Regions from separate parts of the Homo sapiens genome. Here regions 1, 3, 4 and 5 are each linked to region 2. The links are contacts of gene promoters, found by promoter capture Hi-C in human tissues and cell types (Jung and others, 2019). All regions are on one chromosome and are shown on one strand. The core of a region is centred on a gene start or on the middle of the fragment in contact, and the rest is flanking DNA. Distances in the headings are between cores, read along the strand shown. Region 1 holds the start of SLC38A8 (solute carrier family 38 member 8). Region 2 holds the start of WFDC1 (WAP four-disulfide core domain 1). Region 3 overlaps HSDL1 (hydroxysteroid dehydrogenase like 1). Region 4 holds the start of LOC124903736 (a long non-coding RNA gene). Region 5 overlaps MBTPS1 (membrane bound transcription factor peptidase, site 1).

The links. The method cuts DNA at HindIII sites, captures the fragments that hold promoters and counts their contacts. A contact is called where the count stands out against the background at its distance.
Region 1: the fragment with the promoter of SLC38A8 here is called in contact with the fragment with the promoter of WFDC1 in region 2 in 3 of the 25 tissues and cell types used here (H1 embryonic stem cells, mesenchymal stem cells and ovary).
Region 3: a contact is called between a fragment that was not itself captured here and the fragment with the promoter of WFDC1 in region 2, in 3 of the 25 tissues and cell types used here (IMR-90 fibroblasts, dorsolateral prefrontal cortex and mesendoderm cells).
Region 4: a fragment that was not itself captured here is called in contact with the fragment with the promoter of WFDC1 in region 2 in 8 of the 25 tissues and cell types used here (H1 embryonic stem cells, bladder, dorsolateral prefrontal cortex and 5 more).
Region 5: a fragment that was not itself captured here is called in contact with the fragment with the promoter of WFDC1 in region 2 in 2 of the 25 tissues and cell types used here (H1 embryonic stem cells and IMR-90 fibroblasts).

The regions. Positions count from the first base shown.
Region 1 is chr16:84,040,404-84,044,632 of GRCh38, forward strand. SLC38A8 (solute carrier family 38 member 8) reads right to left here and starts at 2,392. Exons shown (of 11, transcript NM_001080442.3): 1 at 2,148-2,392; 2 at 1,566-1,756. The coding sequence starts at 1,754. RefSeq lists enhancers at 1,146-1,850, 1,851-2,554, 2,555-3,259, 3,260-3,963. The HindIII fragment of the contact is 13,701 bases long and covers 1-4,229 here.
Region 2 is chr16:84,292,294-84,296,505 of GRCh38, forward strand. It overlaps WFDC1 (WAP four-disulfide core domain 1), which reads left to right and starts at 2,585. Exons shown (of 7, transcript NM_021197.4): 1 at 2,585-2,822. The coding sequence starts at 2,679. LOC124903734 reads left to right here. Exons shown (of 6, transcript XM_047435022.1): 4 at 206-257; 5 at 1,224-1,342; 6 at 2,040-2,545. The coding sequence ends at 2,545. The HindIII fragment of the contact is 18,601 bases long and covers 1-4,212 here.
Region 3 is chr16:84,137,326-84,141,405 of GRCh38, forward strand. The region is part of intron 1 of HSDL1 (hydroxysteroid dehydrogenase like 1); the gene reads right to left. Among named protein-coding and RNA genes, the nearest start is that of HSDL1, 5.8 kb to the right of the region's middle. RefSeq lists an enhancer at 13-608. The HindIII fragment of the contact is 4,844 bases long and covers 96-4,080 here.
Region 4 is chr16:84,504,609-84,508,833 of GRCh38, forward strand. It overlaps LOC124903736 (a long non-coding RNA gene), which reads left to right and starts at 194. Exons shown (of 2, transcript XR_007065149.1): 1 at 194-327; 2 at 2,738-3,071. It overlaps MEAK7 (MTOR associated protein MEAK7), which reads right to left and starts at 51. Exons shown (of 8, transcript NM_020947.4): 1 at 1-51. RefSeq lists enhancers at 82-1,029, 392-511, 2,639-3,139, 4,130-4,199 and silencers at 2,027-2,146, 2,130-2,366. The HindIII fragment of the contact is 9,061 bases long and covers 1-4,225 here.
Region 5 is chr16:84,078,720-84,083,024 of GRCh38, forward strand. MBTPS1 (membrane bound transcription factor peptidase, site 1) reads right to left here. Exons shown (of 23, transcript NM_003791.4): 11 at 3,028-3,189. Among named protein-coding and RNA genes, the nearest start is that of MBTPS1, 36 kb to the right of the region's middle. The HindIII fragment of the contact is 6,670 bases long and covers 1-4,305 here.

The DNA.
Region 1 (4,229 bases), core at 1,142-3,641, 250 kb before region 2:
CAAGTCACAAATGTGGTCTCAGGCCCACCCAGCCCTGCAGGGCCAGCATCTGCATTTCAGCAAGATCTGTGTGAAATGCCTGCACGGTGCTTGTGGAACAGGGTTCCCACTCTCTGGCTCATGGCCATTCCTGCTGCCCGGGGATTGGCCACAACCCTACCCCCAAGCCCCACCTGCCCTCTGTGGCTTGAGATGGGGCTTCTCCCTCACTGCTGTAATGGCAGGCTTCCTGACACACTAGTCCAAACGCAGGCGTGCTGCCCCGTCACGTGCACCTCAGGAAGCTCTTACCATTTCCAGTGGGGCTCAGCGCAAAGGTCACCTCCTCCGAGAGGCTTCCGACCACGCCATGTCATATCATCCCCCGATCCCCAGAGACACATGACCCTCCCGGCATGATCCACCATCTGAAGCTGATGACATGCATCTTGTCTGACTTCCCATTAAAACAAAGCTCCATGAGGACAGGGACCACACTGCGTCATCCATCCTAGGCCAGGCACGGGGCAGGAGCTCGGCCAACGCCAGGGGTGTCATGGGTTACACCCGACACTAGTTTCCAAACAGACCCGAAGAGCCTCAGGGCACACAAACGGTTGGAACTCAGCCATTATCCACCAGCTGCCGTAAGACGTGTGAGAAAAAGCCGGCCAAAGAGCTTACCACAAAATGCAGCAATTCATTCCATCAGCCAGCGGCAAAGGATCTTAGAAAATAAAGCTGTGCTCATCAGTGGCTCTCCCGCAGCAAAGAGAAGAGCGCGGCGTCCGCGCTTCCCCAAAAGGGAATTCTGGCTTTGCACCCGGCAGGCAGGAGAGCGGAACATCCGACACCAGGCAAGGCCGGCCCGGCTCTGTGTGGGGAGTGTGGGAGTGTCACACCAGTTTTAGGCTCAATCTGCACACAGGAGTCGAGCTTTGTTTTTGTGTGTTTAAGACAGAGTCTCACTCCGTCGCCCAGGCTGGAGCGCACAGTCTCAGCTCACTGCAACCTCCGCCTCCCAGGTTCAAGCGATTCTCCTGACTCCACCTCCTGAGTAACTTGGATTACAGGCGCCCGCCACCACGCCCCGCTAATTTTTGTATTTCCAGTAGAGACAGGGTTTCACCATATGGGCCAGGCTGGTCTCAAACTCCTGACCTCAGGTGATCCGTCCACCTTGGCCTCCCAAAGGGCTGCGATTATAGGCACGAGCCACCGTGCCCGGCCCAGCTTTAGTTTTTGAGCTAAGACCAGCAGGCAAGAAAGAGCAGCTGGCCAGGCAGGGCGCCCAGAGAGGTTCCTTCCCAGGTGAAATGCCCACTTCACAGACAGAGCTGCGATGCCTGTAGCTCCATCCCGGAAGCTGTGTATCAGATGCCACCAGCGCCCACGGGGGATATTCTCATCCCAGGGCTACAGTGGGATTATCTTCTCCCCTCATTAGCTGAGCGGGATAGAAAATAAAACCCCGAAGCTATAGCTTACAGGACACGCAACTCCGCAGAAGCAATGCGAGGAACCCCACCCAGAAAAGCCAAAGCCACCTCGTACCCGTCCCCAGGACTCACTTCCCGGGGACTTACCAGCTCCACCAGGAAGGCAGGGACCACTCCGCCCGCTTTGGAGAAGGCCCAGGGGAAGTTGAGCAGGCCAGCTCCCAGCGCGGACTTCATGAGGATGAAGACAGCGCCCATCGAGGACAGAGTGGCAGCAGCCGTGGCAGGGTGAGGCTTTTCTGGAAGGCCCCTGCTTCCTGGGGTCTGTCCCTCCATGGCTAGAGGCGGCAGAGGGGTGGAGAGAAAGCACAGTCTTCACGCTTTCCTCCCTAAGTTCTCGATATCCTTATTTGTCTCCCCAACTCAGTGAGAGCTCCCTGAGCCGCTCCTGCCCGCTTCCTTGGCGTCAGCTCCCCCTTTCCAAAGGGTGCTGCATGCATCTGCCCACGACTTCTAGTCCCCCTTCGTCTCCCATTCCCTACCCACATTATTCTCACTCCTGCCCTCCCACTAGACCCCAAGGCAACCTCACCCCTTCCCCCTCCCTCTCTTCTCCCAAACCCCCAACCTTCCTCATCCCCATCAATCCTCTCTCCCCCCATTCCCATCCACTCCCTTTGCTTCCAGCCAAACTTCTGTACAAACAGACCCCCAGTTCCTGGTCCTTACCACCAAATCCAACTTTTAAGGTGCCGGACAGTCTTTGGCTGTTGGGGATGGGACTCGGGCTTACTCCAGGTGGCTCAGTTGCATTTCTTGGGGCCAGAGGGGTGGGAGAAGCAAGATTCGAGCTTGGCCAGGGGTGAGTGAGTCATTAACTAAAGGAGCCCTAGCGAGTATGTGTCAGGGTCAGGCCCCTCCACACCTAAGAGGACAGCAACAAGTGGTCAGGGCCATGGGTCCCAAGAATTTGCAGCTTTTGAGACTTCTGACCTGAGCAAGGAAGGCTTAAGACTCCCGCCTCTCCCCAGCCCCCTGCAGGCCCGGCCCCGGGGGTGGAGCTTTCTCAGCTGCCCTGGAGGGTGACAGGGAGCTCAGCTGGGAGCCACACGGGGCAGGGGAGCAGGCACCATGATCTCATGGCAGCTTCTGCAGCGCCTCCATCCTCACATACCTCTCCAAGGTCCCCAGCCCAACGGAGGGGGCGTGAAAAGTGCCCTGAGCCCAGCCTCCTCCTCTGCAGAACAGGCTCCACCGTCCGCAGGTGCTGCCTCCTAGGTGGTTTCCTTTACCTCCTCCACCCAACTCCAGCAGGTGCGTCTCAGAGCTAATCCCATGCACACGAGTCACCTGAGACGGGGCTTGTTGAACGCTTGGGGGAGGCGGCGGCTGCTGGTCCCTAGGCCACGCTTGAGTGATGACACATCTCTCCAAACTGATACGGGGTCAGCTAAGGGGACAGAATATCGGAGACGGCCCCATTCCGGAAAATGCTGGCACATGCAGCTCAGATCCGGAATTTGACTGTTTATTCCTGGAACCCAGGCTCCCTCTCACCCGCATTCTCGAACTCCAGTTTGCATCAGAATCCACTGGAAGGCTTGTTCAAACACAGAACACCAGGCCCCAGCCCCTGTTTCTGACTGAGTGTCTCCGGGGCGGGGTCTGGGCACCTGCCTTTCTAACGGGTTCCCAGGTGACTCCAATGCCGCTGGTTCGGCCCCTCGCTGAGAAGCACTGCTTTCAGTTAAATATCCTCAATGCCCAGAACCCCTCCCCCCGCTGCATCTAATCAGTCCTTATCTGTCCGACACCAGATCAGCCCCAAAGGCTTCTTTTTGATGTGGTTTCTAATGGTCTCAACCCCCGACTCCTGTTACCTCCTGATGAGCAGGCAGGTTCCAAACTCTGTGGCTCACACAATGGCTGCTCCATAAATGCCCAACCAGCAGAGTCAGTGGCTGGCTTCTCAGCAGGGGCAAGTGAAAGGGAGCCGGGATTGCAGTCCCGGAGCTCAAGGCTGGACAATGACCCGGATGACATTCACGCCACTGCTGCATAAATGTGCTGCTGAGAACCTAGCCTGGATGAGTTCACGCGGATTCCTGAGCGGGTGTCCCCACTGTTCCCCCCAACTCCCACCCCGCACCAAGCAGGAACTCGGCTCAGGCAGGTGGAGCACGTGGCTCAGAGCATCACAGCTGGCAAGCAACAAGGCTGGGATTCACCCTGAGTCAGGCTCCTTTCAGAGGCTGTAATGTCACACGGCCTCCTGCCCCACAAGGACTCTGACAGTGCCTGAATGAGTGTGTGAGAGAATGAATGAATGAATGAATGAATACACAAATGCCAGAAAAGAGAGGAAAGGAAACGTCGTTTGATTGTTCCCCTGTATTACGCTCCTGAGGCTGCCAACACAGACTCAGGGGCTTAGAACAATAGAAAGTTATTCTGTCATGGTCTTGAAGGTCAGAAGTTGGTCAAGGTATCAATGGGGACATGCTCCCTCTGGAGGCCATGGAGGGCGGATCCTTCCTGCCTCTTCCAGCTCCTGGGGGCCTAGGCACTCCCTGGCTTGTGACTGCATTGCTGCCGTCTCTGCCAGCATCATCTTCCCAAGCTTTCTCCTCTGTGTCTTCTCTTTTCAGAAAGGCCCACCCAGATAATCCAAGATGATCCCATCTCAAGATCGTTACTTATATCTGCAAAGACCCTTTTTCCAAATAACGTTAACAGTCACAGGTTCCAGGGCGTGGCATAAATCTCTCTACTGGGGGCCACCATTCAGCCCACTACACCCCTCACATCTGA
Region 2 (4,212 bases), core at 1,335-3,834:
CAGGAAGTTTCTCAAATGGAACCTGGGCCAAGGTTCCGCTCTGCCTGGAGAACAGGGTGCGGGTGGAGGAGGCCCAGGAGGCGGTGCCTCAGAACGCTCATCTCCTAACAGCAAGCATGTGCTGAGCCTAGATCCTCGCCTAAGTGCAGCTGGGCCTCATGGCAAACCTGCGAGTAAGTTCTGACTCCATACCCCTGTTTTACAGATGAGAAAACAGAGGCAGAGAGATGGGGCAGGACCTGTTCCAGGTCGTCCTGGTAAGTAGGGGTAGCAGCTCCATCATGTCCGTGGGTGGCTCCTGGCTTCTAAATAAGCAGCCTTGCCCTGCAGGGAGGGGCATTGAGACTGCGTCCCATAAAGCTGAAAGAAGAGGGAGTGGAGCACGCTGGACCATGCCCCCATAAGGGCTCAGCCAGTAGTTTCTGGATGAAGAAATGAAGGAATATTCTAGAATCTAGGGCAAGGTAATGATCAGGGCTGGGCCTAGCGGGAGGCAAAGGAGGCATCTAGGGTCTAAAATGTAAAAAGACTCTCACGCTTGGGCTCCTGGGTTTACAGGACTCTGATGGTGAACTTAAATTTTGCATTGCTCACTGGGCAAGTGTCTTAACCTCTCTGTGCATGGGATCCTAGACAGCACCTGCTTATAAGGCTAATATGAGACCTAAAAGCATTAAAATGCAGGAAGTGCTTCAAACATTGCCGAACACACAGACTGTATGGCTTTTAAGGTTTTTTTTTTTTGATACAGGGTCTTGCTCTGTGACCCAGGCTGGAGTACAGTGGCGCCATCACAGCTCACTGCAGCCTCAACCTCCCACGCTTAGGTGATCCTCCCATCTCAGTCTCCCAATTAGCTGGGACTACAGGTGTGCATCAGCACGCCGGGCTACTTTTTTTATTTTGTATTTTTTGTAGAGATGAGGTCTCACTATGTTGCCCAGACTGGTCTTGAACTCCTGGGCTCAAGGCATCCTCTGCCTCCCTAAGTGCTAGGATTACAAGTGTGAGCCACCGTACCCGACCTACACAGACTATATGTGTTTGCCACTATTGTCATTCACTAAAAGGCCAAGAGGGGTTGATGATACCTGCCCAGGGCATTCTGAAGGCTGTGCTGGCCAGGAGGTGGGGGGTGAGGGTCCCCAGGGAGGGAGGAACCAATCTTTCTGGAGCACTCACTCTGTGCAAGTGCTGGGCACAGCTGGCACCCTCTCCTGTAGCCCCACATCGATCTCAAGAGGCAGAGACTTTCACATGCCCATTTCACAGATGAGAGAACTGAGGACCATGAGCAAGAGGCTTTCCAGCATCTCGCAGAGGCTGAACTGGGATCAGGCAGGTGCGTCAAGCCTAGTGCTTGGGTCCCTTCTGCTTCGCCTAGGGGGGTGCCACAGGGTCTGACCTACCTGGGTTCCAGCCTCCTCTCTGCTGCTGTTGCATGACCTCAGGCAGCCCCCTCTGTTTCCTCATCTGTAAAGCGGGCATCAAAACAGTGTCTGTTTTGGGGCCGGGTGTGGTGGCTCACACACCTGTAATACCAGCACTTTGGGAGGCTGAGGCGGGCAGATCACTTAAGGTCAGGAGTTTGAGACCAGCCTGGCCAGCATGGTGAAACCCAGTCTCCACTAAAAATACAAAAATTAGCCAGGCATGGTGGCACATGCCTGTTATCCCAGCTACTTGGAAGGCCGAGACAGGAGAATCGCTTGAACCCGGGAGGCAGAGGTTGTAGTGATCTGTGATCACACCACTGCACTCCAGCGTGGGTGACAGAGCAAGACCCGTCTCGAAAAACAAAACAAAACAAAAAACCAGTATCTGTCTTGGAAGTGCTGAGAACAGACAAGGGAATATGAAGTTTGTGAAATGTTGAGCCCGCTGTGCTACATTCCTGTAAAACACACACGTGCACATGCACACCCACGTGCACACACGCATACACATAAATGCACATGTGCAGATACACCGGCTGACAGTGACAGCACACTTATGTGTGTGAAATGCTTTATGTGCTCAATTTCTTTTAAATCTCACAGGAAACACACGCTATGAGGAACTACCCACATGCCCACATCAGGCAGGAGGACCCCGGCGGGTGCAAGGGTGGAAGTCGTCTCTTCATGGCTGCACCCTTGGCCAGTGCCAGTCCAGCAGCCTCTTTCAAAGAAGCTTTTATAGGCAGATAGTTTGTCAGCCCAGCTCGAAATGTGAACAAGGTAGCAGCCGAGCCCCCACCCATCCGGCTGCACTCCCCTGCATGTCCAGCCCCGAGCCCTGTGTCAAGCACACCTCCTTGGGAGGAGACCGCCCCAGCCTGCAAGGAAGTGCTCATTATGGAGAGTGGAGAGTGACAGGCCACTCCCGGCCACGTCTCCAAGCAAGCCGGTGCCCCCTCCTCCTGCTGCCACCGCCCACTGAGCTGCCTGGGCTGCAGACGCCCTGGTTGGAGCGTCTGGGGCCAGATGTTATAGGGCAAGCTAAAAATAACCGGGCAGGCCAGCCACCATCGAGGAAGGGGCATGTGCTGGACGCGGACACATGATCCGAGGGACCCTGCTGGGTGGAACTAAGAAAGTCCAGCAGACTGTGCACGCTCCTGTCCCCACTCACAGGCCCACGCAGCGAGGGGGGCCCCTCTTCTGTGTGCGTCTGGAAGGTCGCTGCCCAGGGAGGAAATGCCTTTAACCGGCGTGGGGCCGGGCAGCTGCAGGAGGCAGATCATCCGGGCTCTGTGCCTCTTGCTACTTCTCCTCCACGCCGGCTCTGCCAAGAATATCTGGAAACGGGCATTGCCTGCGAGGCTGGCCGAGAAATCCCGTGTAAGTGCCTGGGATGGGGAGGCTGGGGCAGCCTGTGTGGGTGGGAGTCAGCCTTGAGGAGAGGCGATCCCTAGACACTGCCTTCTCCTGTAAGTGCTCCCCCAAAACGTGGCAAGGCAGGCGTCTTCCTATCCGTGTGTGTCTGAGTTGTGTGGTGGGCAGATGGGGCTCACCCCCAAAAAAGGACCCTTATCTGTGAATCAAGAGGCAAAAGACACATCACAAATGTGCCAAAGAATCGTGCCTTACTTTTGCCTTGTTACAAAAGTATGCTTGCTCCTGAAAGACAGCATCTCATTTCGGAACCCCAGGATTTAAACGGAGCATTCCGTCTCCCTGATCAGTACCAAATGTTTGTGAAATACACTTATGCATTCATGTGGTTGTTTATTCATTCAGCAAACAGAATGAATACACTCTGTTAAACAGAATTTAGCAGAAACCGCTCTGGGGAAGGCACTCTGTGGGGTCCTGTGGATACAAGATAAAGGAGGTACCAGCCCCCATCCTCAAGGGTGGCGTGGCCGAGGTGCAGAGGCAGTTGGGTGACAAACGATGGCAGTACAAAGAGAAGGCATGAGGCAGTGAGTGGCAAGAAACACATGCCCTGGGGCCAGATGTCTGGGTGTGAATCGGGCTCTGCTGCTCATTAGCTGCGTGGCTTCTCTCAGGCAAGCTGCTTGACGTCTCTGAACCCCAGCAATCTCATCTGCAAAAGACAGAGGGATGCATTTCTTCACACAACTATGTCTGGGTCGCCACTGTTTACCAGGTACTGTCCTAGGCTGTGGGGATACAGGCCTCACATCTCTGCCTGGGGAACTCAATGGGGGGCTGGGGGCAGCAAAGAATAAATGAGAGAGATCTCATTTATTAGTATGTGCAGATTGCAAGTGCTGAGGAAGCAATAAAGCAGGAAGGGAACTAGGAGAGAGAATGGGGTGGAGGAGGCTATCATTTTTGGTTCCTCCCACCCCCCAGAGATCACAGATCCGCAGGGACGGAGTGAGCCAGGACGATATCAGCACACAGAGGGCTCAAGAAGGTAATGCTGGCACCCACAGCACCTGTGTGAGGATTGAATGTCTCAGTATGTAGAACGTCTTTGCAACATAGCAAGCTGGCAGTGCATCTTGGCAGCTTTCAATCAAATAATTGTGACTTTGTTTGGTGTTGCCTAACAGGGTAGCATGTAGGTTCCTTGGGGTAGGGCAGGGTTCTGTTTCACTAATGTGTGCCCCTGGTGCCTGCCATTAAGTTGACGCCTGGTACATTCTTGTGGGTGAATTATGAGCGGCTGCAGTGGTAGCACGGGATGCGTGTGCAGCTCTTCCCCAGGAGAGTCAGACAGGGTTTTTAGGGTTGGGGACAGTGGACCTGTGGCTTTAAA
Region 3 (4,080 bases), core at 1,268-3,767, 160 kb before region 2:
CCCGCATGCACAGCACAGGCTGTGCTGTCCTGTGTGACGCCCCATGTGTGCAGGCGCACAGGCGTGAAGGAGACTGGGAGAGGCAGACTGGAGATGCCTTCACGCCAGACTGGAGTGCATGGACCTCCTCCTTGAGCACCAAGGGAGGGAGCTGGTGGGGCTTGTTTAGGAAGGTAACGCAGCAGGGGAGGAGGGGGGCTCCTGAGCCCTGGTTACTCAGCTGGGGATGAAGGAGGGCCACACGGAGAGCCAAGGCTCTGTGGCCTCTGCTGCTCCTCAGCCTTGCCAGACACTTCACACATTCACTCACACCCTGATGGGCCAAAGATGTTAGAGAACTGGAAATTAAAACTCATTCCCTGCTCTCAATCTTCTTCCCCACCCTTCTGTACATGATGGAAAATAACATTTTTCTCATGACAAAAGAAATCAGTACTTTCCCCAGAGCCACCAAATTTCAAAAGCTCATAGCCTCTCACTGAAACTTTCAAAGGAATTTATCACACATTTAAGCCTAGAAGTCCACTTAGGCATATGTAGATAACAAGCCTCGTCAAAGTTACTTTAGGTATCTGACTAGTTACTGTTTTGTGGCTTGATTAGCGAAAGCTATTAACCTGTGCTACGGTCTGAGCGTTCCGCCCCACTCCCTGATTCTTGTCTTGAATCTTAACCCCCCAGGTGATGGTTTAGAAGGGAGGGCCTTTGGGAGGCGATCAGATAATGAGGGCTCCACCACCTTGATCTTGGACCATTCAGCCTCCCAAACTGCGAAAAGTAAGTGTTTGCTGTTTCCAAGCCACCCAGTTCATGGTATTTTGTTATAGCAGCTCAAAACCAACTAAGGCAGCCTGCAACCTAGAGAAACCCATGATGTGGAAAGCAATACTAAAACACAGTAAAATTCTGATTCATGTACAATCTACCTGCAAGAACTTATTCTAAAGCTTTATTTTCTTAAACAGAGAGTAGAATGGTGGTTGCTAGAGGTGGGGTCATGGGTGGGAAGTTTTGGTCAAAGGGGTATAAACTTTCAAATATAAAATGCATACGTCTGGAGAGCTAATGTACAGTACAGTGACCATAGTGAGCAATACCAAATTGTAGGCTTAAAATCTGCTTAGAGGGTAGATCTCAAGTGTTCTCACCATAAAGAAATAAAAAAGTAACTGAGGTGATGAATGTGTTAACTAATTTGGTTGTGGTGATCATTTCACAAAGTATACATATATCAAATCATGTTGTACACCTTAAATTTATATAATTTTATTTGTCAATTATACTTCGATGAAGTTGGAAAAATATAAAATAATTTAAAAAAATTTTTAAGCTTTGTTTTCTCATCTCTGCAGAAAACTAAAACATCTGTGAACAAAACAAAACCACAACTGTCCCCAAACTAGGAAAAGAAGAGCAAGTCCCTATTATCTTTTAAGCATTTTCTACTTCTACAGGGCAGGAGTCATCAAAAACCTACAGGAAACGTTACAACTACAAAAGCGTCACGGGACAATTATGGTCAAAACTGCAAGTAGCAAAGTCACCTCTTCAAAGCACCACTGCTGTGGCCTGTAACATGATCCCACTCCACAGTGAAGGGGACTCCACCTAGCAGTGTAAAGGGCAATCAACTCAAATAGAAAAACCTTCATGTACCAAGAGTTCTGGGAGGAAAGTCTTGGCTGAAACATGGACATTACCAAGCTATCCAAATGCGTGTGACGTGGGGCGGGTGGTGAAAGAACACAAGGCAGACTGGCCAGGGTTTTAAAGAAGACAAAGCAAGCAGGATGGAAAAAAAGACAATCAAAGCATTAGCGAACGACAGTGTGGTGGGCACAGTAATGGCCTCCAGGGATATCTACAGCCTAATCCCCAGACCCTGTAAATACGTCACCTTATGTGGCCAAAGGGACTCCGTAGATGTGACTGAGTTAAAGACTCCGAGCTGGGGAGGGTGGGTCCAATGTCATCATGTGTCCTTGTAAGGGGGGCAGGAAGATCAAAGAGAGAGAGCCATGTGACTACAAAGGGAGAGGTCAGAGAGAGCTCGAGTTGAGGGTGCTCTGTGCTGCTGGTTTCGATAATAGAGAGAGGGGTGGGTCACCAGTGAAGGACGGGGGGTGGCCTCTAGAAGCTGGCAGAGGCAAGGAAAAGGATTCTCCCCTGGAGCCTCCAGAGGAACACAGCCCTGCTGACACCTTGACTTTAGCGCAGTCACAATGACTTCAGATTCCCATCTCCAGAAGGAAGAGACATCTGTGTCATTTTAAGCCACTACCTTTGTGGCAATTTGTTACATCAGCCACAGGGGATAAGGATAAACAGTGGGAGGAAGGGATGGATGAACAGTCAGTTCAGCTTTCAGGACAGCGAAGAGACAAGCTGAAAACTCTGCAACCTCCCTTAAGCCAAAACCACTATGTGTATTCAGGAGCCAGAAAGTCTCAGAGGTTCCTGCCATCTTTGACTGACCAGGGTAGACCTGAGGTCCTCCTCCTCACCAGCTGGGATTATCCAGCTTTTCAGTAAGGCTCCAGGGCGATGGCTGTTTTCATTGATGAAAACATTTTTCCAAATAAATCTTAATTTTTTCAGAGTGTGAATCTGTCTTGTGCTCAGTACTCCAAATCCTCTGTTCTTCCTGACGTTTCAAGTCCCATGTCTTCTCCTCCGTTCAATCACTTCCTAACAAGCACCAACAACATGTCAGCCCTGGGGAGAAACTTCCCTTCCTGTCCCTTCCCTTCCCAGGCCGTGGCACTGCCCCCACCTCTGAATTCCTCTCCACCTCTCTTACCCATGTGGCACTTAGCACACACTGCTTTGGATTCTATTTAAACACTCAACTTGCTTATATCTTGGTTTCTTGGTTGTCCAAGGAGAGCACAGGCCTCTGGAGGGCAGGAGATGTATAGAAAACGAATTTTTCTGTAACTAAAAGAAATTTTTGTTTTTAGGCCGAGTCTTGTTCTGTCTTCCAGGCTGGAGTGCAATGGTGCAATTTCTGCTCACTGCAACCTCCGCCTCCTGGGTTCAAGCGTTTCTCCTGCCTCAGCCTCCCGAGTAGCTGGGACTACAGGTGCCCTCCACCATGCCCAGCTAATTTTTGTATTTTTAGTAGAGATGGGGTTTCATCATGGTGGTCAGGCTGGTCTTGAACTCCTGACCTCAAGTGATCCACCCACCTCGGCCTCCCAAAGTGCTGGGATTACAGGCGTGAGCCACTGCACCTGGCAAAAATGTTTAAATATATACAAAAGTATGTAAAACCTATTATGCACAGTTCAAAGAATAATAAAACAGCCACTTAGCCACCAGCCTACTTAACAAAACCAGTGTCGTGGAAGTCCTGTATGCTGTTCCTCTGATTACAGCCCCTCCTCTATCCTGGAGGCAGCCTCTCTCCTAAATTCTGGGGTAGTCACTCCCTGACTCTTTTAACAAAACAGCTGTATACCCCAAGCATGTATTCTGAAACAGTAACAGTATTGCTGGCCGGGCGCGGTGGCTCACGCCTGTAATCCCAGCACTTTGGGAGGCCGAGGCGGGCGGATCACGAGGTCAGGAGATCGAGACCACGGTGAAACCCCGTCTCTACTAAAAATACAAAAAATTAGCCGGGCGCAGTGGTGGGCGCCTGTAGTCCCAGCTACTCGGGAGGCTGAGGCAGGAGAATGGCGTGAACCCGGAAGGCGGAGCTTGCAGTGAGCGGAGATCGCGCCACAGCACTCCCGCCTGGGCGACAGAACGAGACTCCGTCTCAAACAAAAAAAAAAACAGTATTGCTAAGTTTCGCCTGGTTTTGAACCTCACATAAAGGAACCACACCACATGGACCCTTTGGTGACTTGTTTCTTTCACTCAACATCATTCCCGAGACTCATCCATGCCCCTGCAGCTATATAGTCCATCCTCCTCGGCAGCTGCACAGTATCTCACGGTTCAGATGCACTGCAGTTCACAGGTCCCCCTGCTGCTGGTTCAGATACACCACGATTCACAGGTCCCCCTGCTGCTGGTTCAGATACACCACGATTCACAGGTCCCCCTGCTGCTGGTTCAGATACACCACGATTC
Region 4 (4,225 bases), core at 1,593-4,092, 210 kb after region 2:
GCTTCCTGGTGCTGTCCGGTCCGGTCCAGCAGCCCACGGGCTCCTCTCGAGAGCCGCCCCTTCCCTGTTGCCAGGCAACATTGCTGAGGGGCAGTCATTTGGTCCAATCGTGGAAGCGGAGGTGTGGGGCGGAACCCAAGAGAGGAGTCAGCCAATGGTGACGCGCCTCACAGGGAGTGAGCCGAACCCGGTGGGTGCGGCTCGGGGCGGGGCCGCGGTCTGCGGGAGGAGCGGCTGCAGGCCCGGGAATCCGGCCCGGCTGCGTGCGTACCAAGGAGGCGCCTGGAGAGGGCGGCCAATGACTCAGGCCAGGCCAGGCCAGCAGTGGTACCTGGGGAGAAGGGGTGTCTGGGCTGGGCGCTGGAGCGGAGTAGCCAGGGTGTGGGAGATCCTGGGGGAGAGGCTGAGCTTGGGGGTGAAGACACCCGGGGGAGGAGAGTGGCCCATGTGGAGCCCATGCAGAGGCCTCTGCAGTGCAGCCTCCTGGGCCCCAGGCAACTCTCCCCTGACTCCCCGGCCTGCTGGTCCTGGCCTAGAGCCTCGGGTCCGCCTCCCCTCGGGCCTCCCTCTGCCAGCTGCCCCTGCCTCGCTCTTCCCTGGCACCAGGTCCTTCCCGGCAGCCATCAGGCGCCAGCTCCACAGCCTGGCTAAACAGACTCCCTCCACCCCACGTGCGCCTCTTCAGCCGGTTCCCGTTCACTCCAAGACGTCTGAACCTGTCACCCCACTTCTTCAGCTCGTTCCTTCTCAAACCCACCGAAACCTGGTCCCGGGGGCCTGCTCACTACATCCGAGGTGCGCTTTGGGTCCTCGCAGGCAGCATTTGGCGCTTGGTGATCGTGCTCTCATCAGACCTCTCTCTTGGGCACCCCGGCGCCCATTCCTGGCCCTGGCTCGCTCGCTGTCCCTGGTGGTCTTCCCTGGGCCCTTCTGGCTTCTGCCCTGGAGTTTCTCGACTTCTCCCTACTCTCTCCACCCCACGCATCCTCCCTGGGGTCCACCTTCCTGCAGATTCAGCTCCCGCATGTCCATGGTACCAGTTCTCTCCCCTGCACGGCCTGCTGGTTTTCCAGCCTGGAAAACCGTGACTTCGCCCGCCAACGTCCGCTTGAGTTGGTCTCGAACTCCTGACCTCAGGTGATCTGCCTGCCTCGGCCTCCCACAGTGCTAGAATTGTAGGGGTTAGCCACTGCACCCGGCTGGTCACCTCTTATTCTTTAAGCTGGAACAAAAATAGAAGGCTTTCTGCCTGAGGGCAGCAGGCCTGGCTGGTGACAGTGCACAAGGTAGGGCCCCTCACCAAGACATTGCTCTGAGATCCAAGGCCAATGTCCCAGGAGAAGCAGCTCCACAAACTAACGCATCTACAGCCAGGGTACCCCCAGCTGTGGATGCCAATGACACGAGTAGCCCCAGCTCTTCACCTCGGCTTCTTAGAGTAGGTGCCTGTCACCTGCAGCCAGGGCTCCTGATGCCCAAGACACACGGGCCTTTAGACATGAAGGACTAGACCCTGTTTCCAGCCTTCACACCCCTGTACTTCCTGCACACATCAACCAGGTGTGTCTTTTTCAGTGCCATCCGAGGTAGTGGCATTTTTGACATAGCAACAGTTTTTTGTAGGCTGAGGCACACCAAGGGTGGACAGCAATGGTGGCCTCTCAGGTGCAGGTACTGGGGGGTCCGCAGGAGCAAACCGGAGCCGATGTGTCAGCCTGGGCAACATAGTGAGACTCCATCTCTACAAAAAATGAAAAGCTTGGCCGGGCGTGGTATGGCACACCCGTAGTCCCAGCTACTCAGGGAGCCGAGGCAGGAGGATCGCTTGAGCCTCAGAGGGCGAGACTGCAGTGAGCCGTGATTGCACCACTGCACTCCAGCCTGGGCAGGAAAGTGAGATCTTGTTATTAAAACGGTGAAACAAAATCCCCCAGAAAACCACAGAAGCAAATGCGGAGCGGCGCCGTTTGAGAGCTACCGAAGTGGCGCCACCTCGTGGCCATACCCTCCAGAAACAGCCTACACTCCAATCTGCCCACCTGCCTGGTTGGAAAGTTTCTGTTTTTGATGGAGTTTCACTCTTGTTGCCCAGGCTGGAGTGCAATGGCGCAATCTCGGCTCACTGCAGCCTCCACCTCCCAGGTTCAAGCAATTCTCCTGCCTCAGCCTCCCGAGTAGCTGGGATTACAGGCATAGGCCACCACACCCAGTTAATTTTTATATTTTTAGTAGAGACGGGGTTTCACCACGTTGGCCAGGCTGGTCTCGAACTCCTGACCTTAGGTAATCCACCCACCTCGGCCTCCCAAAATGCTGGGATTACAGGCATGAGCCACCGCCCCTGGTATTCTCAATTTTTTTAAATAAGAGATTTATATTGCTTGACATTTTGCATATAAAGTGAGACTCTTTTAAAAATATACATCATGCTATTTCAACAAGCTGGTGCTCCCGGGGATGTCCATGGGCTGTCCAACTGCCCCCGGGGCACCAGCTTCTGTTTTTTATGCTGACTTTGGGCACTGAACTCTCCTTGGCTCCCAGAGGTCCTGACCAGGCTGGTCCTGCCATCCACAGCGGTGCCTCTGCTAGCGACATCCCTGCCCAATTTTCCATGTCCAGCTTTGACACCTCCACAGAAAGGCTGAGCCACCACCGGGCCCCCATTGTGGCTGAGCATCCACTCTCTCTTCCCCATGTGCTCCTTGCCCCCGACTCCCCATCTCTGGAACCCAAGTTTGGGCTGCATGGACCACCTTCTGGGCCAGGCTGTTAGGAGGCCACCACCAAGCAGCAAACGCAGGAGCAGCCGTGCCCTGAGGAGGCACCACCAGCAGCCTCCAGCAGCACTCGGTGAGGCGGGCAACGATCCATCTGTGCCGCCAGCATGGAGCCGGAAGCCACGGCTGACTTGTGCAGTAGAGGAAGTCGAGTTCATTTTATTGAATTTATTCTCATTTTCAGTTTGAATGGCCACATGTGGCAGGCAGTTATTCTATTGTGCAGTGCTTGCCGGACCACATGCAACAATTCAAAATTGAAAATCAAAAATAAATGTACGGCTCACCCACTAGGATAGCTAACGTTTTTGTTTTGTTTTTGAGACAGGATCTTGCTCTATCACCCAGTCTGGAGTGCAGTGATGCAATCACGGCTCAGCTCACTGCAGCCTCGACCTCCCAGGCTCAAGCCATCCTCCCACCTCAGCCTCGTAAGTAGCTGGGACCACCGGCGTACCCCACCACACCAGGCTATTTTTATTTTTTGTAGAGATGGGGCCTCGCGATGTTGCCCAGGCTGGTCTCGAACTCCTGGGCTCAAGCGATCCTCACACCTTGACCTCCCAAAGTGCTGGGATTACAGACATGAGCCACCATGCCCGGCCTAAGAGGGCTAAAGTTTTTTAAATAGCGAGTGTTGGAGAGGAGGTAGTTCTCTCCTCCCGCACTGCTGGTGAAATGGTTCAGCCATGGGGGAAATCAGTCCTCAAAAAGTTAAACAGAGTTACCATAGGACCAGCAGTCCCACGCCTAGATACACCACAAAGCTGAAAACCTGTATTCAAACACACACTAGTACTGGATGTTCAAGCAGCACTGTTCACGATAGCCTAAAGTGGAAAAAAGATAAAAGCCCATCTGAAGAATGGATAGACAAGATATGGTATATCCACACAATGGAATAATATTTGGCAATTTAAAAAAAAGGAATGAACCACTGACACATTACAACGTGGATAATCCTTGAAAATCTGATGTTATGGCCAGGCGCAGTGGCTCATGCCTGTAATCGCAGCACTTTGGGAGGCCGAGGTAGGTGGATCACCTACCTCGGTGGATCACCTGAGCTCAGGAGTTTCAGACCAGCCTGGCCAACATGGTGAAACCCTGTCTCTACTAAAAATACAAAAATTAGTCGGGCATGGTGGTGGGCGCCTGTAATTTTAGCTACTCAAGAGGCTGAGACGTGAGAATTGCTTGAATCCAGGAGGCAGAGGTTGCAGTGAGCCAAGATCGCGCACTGCACTACAGCCTGGGTGACAGAGTAAGACTTTGCCTCAAAAAAAAAAAAAAAAAAAAACTGTGGTTACGTGAAAGCAGCCAGACACAAAGGACCACATATTGTAGCTTTGATGTAAAATGTTCAGAAAAGACAAATTTAGAGACAGAAAGTAGATTGCGGTTGCCAGTGCTGGAGCGTTAGGAATGAGGAGTGACTGCTAATA
Region 5 (4,305 bases), core at 766-3,265, 210 kb before region 2:
GAATCTCTACGCACTGACGTGGAGAGATTTCCAGGACGTTAAGTGAAAAAAGCAGAATCCAAAACAATATCCACAGCGATGCTATCCTTCTATGTATGTGCTCATTTGTGGGGTGGTGGGGGCAGGGGGAAGGATAAACCCAAACCTGATGTCATGGTTACCTAAGGCGTGTGCGGAAGCCTGGTAGAAAGAATGGGCGAGTGGGAACTGACATGGTTTGGATGCTCGCCCCCTCCCAATCTCACGCTGACGTGTAATCCCCCATGTTGGAGGTGGGCCTAGTGGGAGGGACTGGGTCCTGGGGGAGACCCCTCATGGGTGGTTTAGCACCATCCCTCTGGTGGTAACTGAGTTCTCACTCAGCTCAGGCAAGATCTGGGTGTTTAACAGTCTGGGACCTCCCCGCTCTCTTGCTCCCTCTCTTGCCATGTGATGTGCTGGCTCCCCTTCACCTTCTGCCATGATTGGAAGCTCCCTGAGGCCTCCCCAGAAGCAGGTGCTGGTGCTATGCTTCCTGTACAGCCTGCAGAACCAGGAGCCAACTGAACCTCTTTTCTTTATAAATTACCCAGTCTCAGGTATTTTTTTATAGCAGTGCAAGAACAAACGAACACATCCTTAGAACCACAGTCATGTTTCACACACCCAATAACAAGTTATAATCAACGAGGATGTGGGGGAAATCTAAAAAGGAATACAAACACGAATAAATGAGTCCAACTGTATTAAAAAGACACCAAGGAAAGAATTAACCTAAGTAACTGAAAAAAACACTATAACTGTATTCTGTAGGGCCAAAGATAATGACGCACTGTCACAAATACTATATTCAAAAAACTCACAAGGACATGGGCTAGCAGTTCCAAAGCTGCTCAGTACGTATACACTACAACTAAGCAAATAAGCCAACATATTGTGGATAATGAGAGCCAGGCTTCTCACTGTTGGAGAATGGAGTTAGAAACAGAGGTAACATGACCATCTCTGTAAATAAGAAATAAATAAATAAATAGAAACAAGGATAGGGAAAGGCTGGAATGAACACTGAGATACTGGCTGGAACCTGGAGGTGGCATGAACTCATGTTTCCAGTACATACACAGATAGGCAGATACAGAAGCAGTCGTATGTGTCTGTGCACGTGTCCACACGTTGCCTAGCTCTGTCCGAAGAGCGCAGTAACCACTGTGAGCACAGCAGCTTGGAGCACCCCGAGTGCCCAGGTCTTGATTTCTTTAGAAGAGGCCATCAGCAAAGAGCTGCTTGGAGACAGAACTGATACCAAGGCTAGAGCACAGAGGTGCATGACAGGACATCCTGTGCTGCCAGGAAGACAGAAAGTGCTCAGAAAAGGCTGGACACATGCTGAAAACACACATAAGCCAACTAGATGGAGCTCCCAACAGCCAACTCGGGGACAATTTGAACGACCCACTAAATGATATTAATTATAATCCACAGAGTAAAATAAATATCTATGTGTCCACACTGATGTAAAGAACTGAATAAATAAATGGGACAGAAAGGACAGCTCTTCCTTCCAGGAGAGTTCCAATTAATCAATGTAAATGGAATGAAGGAAAAAGAAAATCATCACGTGTCAAAGTTGTCAGGAGTAATCACCAAAGGCAAGAACCATCAAGGCATGCTAACATGAGTGAGTGGAAGTATGTGACGAAACAAGGCCATCTCGAAACATGCCCCCACAAGACACTGAGAAGTCACAAAGGAAACACGGGCTGCACAGTGGAGACACCTGGCAGGAGCCACCTCTGGCCCCACAGGGCCAGCAGCTCAGGTCTCCTCTGCAGGACACTGCTGGCTGACACCCGCAGCTGCCACCCTCAGGTCCTCACACGTCTGTGCCAAGGCCACGCTTCCCCTGGGGCTGCTCCCAGCCAATGACTAAGCACACAGGAGGCACCAGGGCAGGCCCATTCTGGGGGGACACAGGACTCCTCCAACAGGCAATCTGGTTCAAGGATTTCCCATCAGCCAAAACTTTTTCAGGCCTGTGCGAGCCTCTTCCTCCCCAGTCCTCCTAACTTTTCGGTGTCAGATCAGCACTGCAGTTCCTGCCTATTCCCACACCCTTCCCTTTATCCTTCAGAGGCCCTCACTCCCCACATATCTTTTGAACATGTAATCCTAGCTTGACGTCTGCTTCTTGGAGGACCCAGACTGACAGACCACATTAATCAAATGATGAAAATGAATACCCCCAATAACAAGATGAAGGAAAACGGAGGAACCGTCTGTGATTAGAGGAAACCAAGAAGACAGGACAATGAAATCCAATGTGGGATCCTGGACTGGATCCCAGAGAATGGACCTGTGGGACAATGGGCGGAATCTGCGTGAAGCCTGCAGGTCAGTCAGCAGTGCTACATCAAGGTTCATTTCCAGACTCTGACGCTCATACTGAGGTTATGGAAGATACTAAGGTGAGGGAAAGCTGGGTGAAGGACTCAGGGGTTCTCATGAACTATTTGTGAAACTTTGCTGTAAATCTAAAATCATTTCAAAATAAGGGTGAAAACAAAGCAGGGCCCAGGCCGGACGGGAGTACCACAGGAGCTGGCGAGATGTATGTGGTCTGCAGGTGAATTACAGCACAGTGTCAGTGTTTGTATGACAGTTTTAACAGCTGTACTCCACTCATCTGAAATGGTGGCATCAGGGGAAACTGGGCAACCTTGTAGGACAACTCTCTCCTATTTCTGCAAAATTTCTGTAAACCTAAGATTATTTCAAGAGTCTAAGAAAGTAAACAACAAAAGCAAAAAAACCACTCAGAAATCATTACTTTTAACCATTTATATTAAAGATCACATCAGTAAGCGAAAGCAGCTACCAGTTCTGCCAGCAGCACCCTGTAGAAGCAGCAGCAAAACCTCTCCAAGCACCCCGAGAATTCTGTGCTTAGTCATCATTTTCTGTTTTGAGGCTTGTATTTTGTGCAGAGGGAAAATTCGCCCAGAGCCCAGTGAAGGAGAGAAAGACCCATCGGCAGGGCGGTGCACTGACCTTGCCTGTGGCTTGTAGCTGTTGAGGATCTGATAGGCTCTGAGCAGATCGAGCTTGCCGTGGCCTTGCTCAAACATGTTGACCCCGGGGAGCCTCCGGGCTGACGCGATCAGGGCCTGCTTCATACTGGCGGGATTCACCAGCTCACGCTTCTGGACTGTGCTGGAGGAAAAATCAAGAATTGCCTATTTTCTCTCAGTAAAAGAATGGAAATTGGACCACTAAAACCTAACCTACAAACGTGCACACAAGAGGCCTGCAGTCTTGTTTAGTATCCAACAGGTGCTTGTCTGGCACAGCCTGCATGAGAGAATGAGTGCACACTCATCTCTGTACCCAATCCAGGACTGACCACTCCGCAACCTTCTACGGGACCCACTTATGCTAAATGCATCAGTAACACATATTTTTGTGATAATTCAACTAAACAACCACATAGGCTGCAGAAGGCATGAATGTATAGGAGGTACTGACTCCTCTGGGGAGAGGAAGCCTGCTGGTCACAGGAAGAAGATGCCATGGGACACCGCCTGGCTGGGAGAAGGAGGAGCACATTCAGATCCTGGGGAGGGGCCACGACACAGGACTAGCAGGAGGCACAGGTCTGAGTGAGGACCGCCGCCTCCAAAGCCAATCCTTGCCTTTTTGTTTCCAGATTGGGAGGCTTGTCTGGGATGAGCCACCCTGATGGATGATGCCTTTCAGAACGACATAGACCTAAGGCCACCTTCAGTTTCACCATGAGAATGCATCTGAACAAGCTTTAACACACAGTGTGACCTGGCTAGGAACTTAGCCTGGTGATACTAGCGTTACAACATCCATTTTTGTGTATTTATGTATTATAAATACAAGTGAATTTTAATTCCTAAAATTGAGGTGGGAATATCAGTACACAAAAAAGGAAAACTTAACTCTCCTAAGTTCCTAAATATTCGTATGTGATGATGTTTGGTGTTGGAGTCTAGGCAGGTTTTCTAAATGGGAAATCTGACATAAGTAGAGGAGATAAAGTAGATTCTTAATGACAGAAGAAAAGAAGTGCTCAAAGCTATGGGTCAACAATCTTCCTCCTCTTCCTGCCTATAAAGTGAACTCAAGGGTTGCGTTCCACTGCCTTTCACAGCATCATCAGGCTGGAGCTCGGGAGGCCCGCCACTGCTGCTCGGCTTCCATTATGAGCGACTGTCACACACAGAGATCACAACGGCAGTTTCATCTGCTGCAGGGAGATGAGGAGACTGAAAGGCTTCCTTGTTGCTGAAAATATCTGTACTT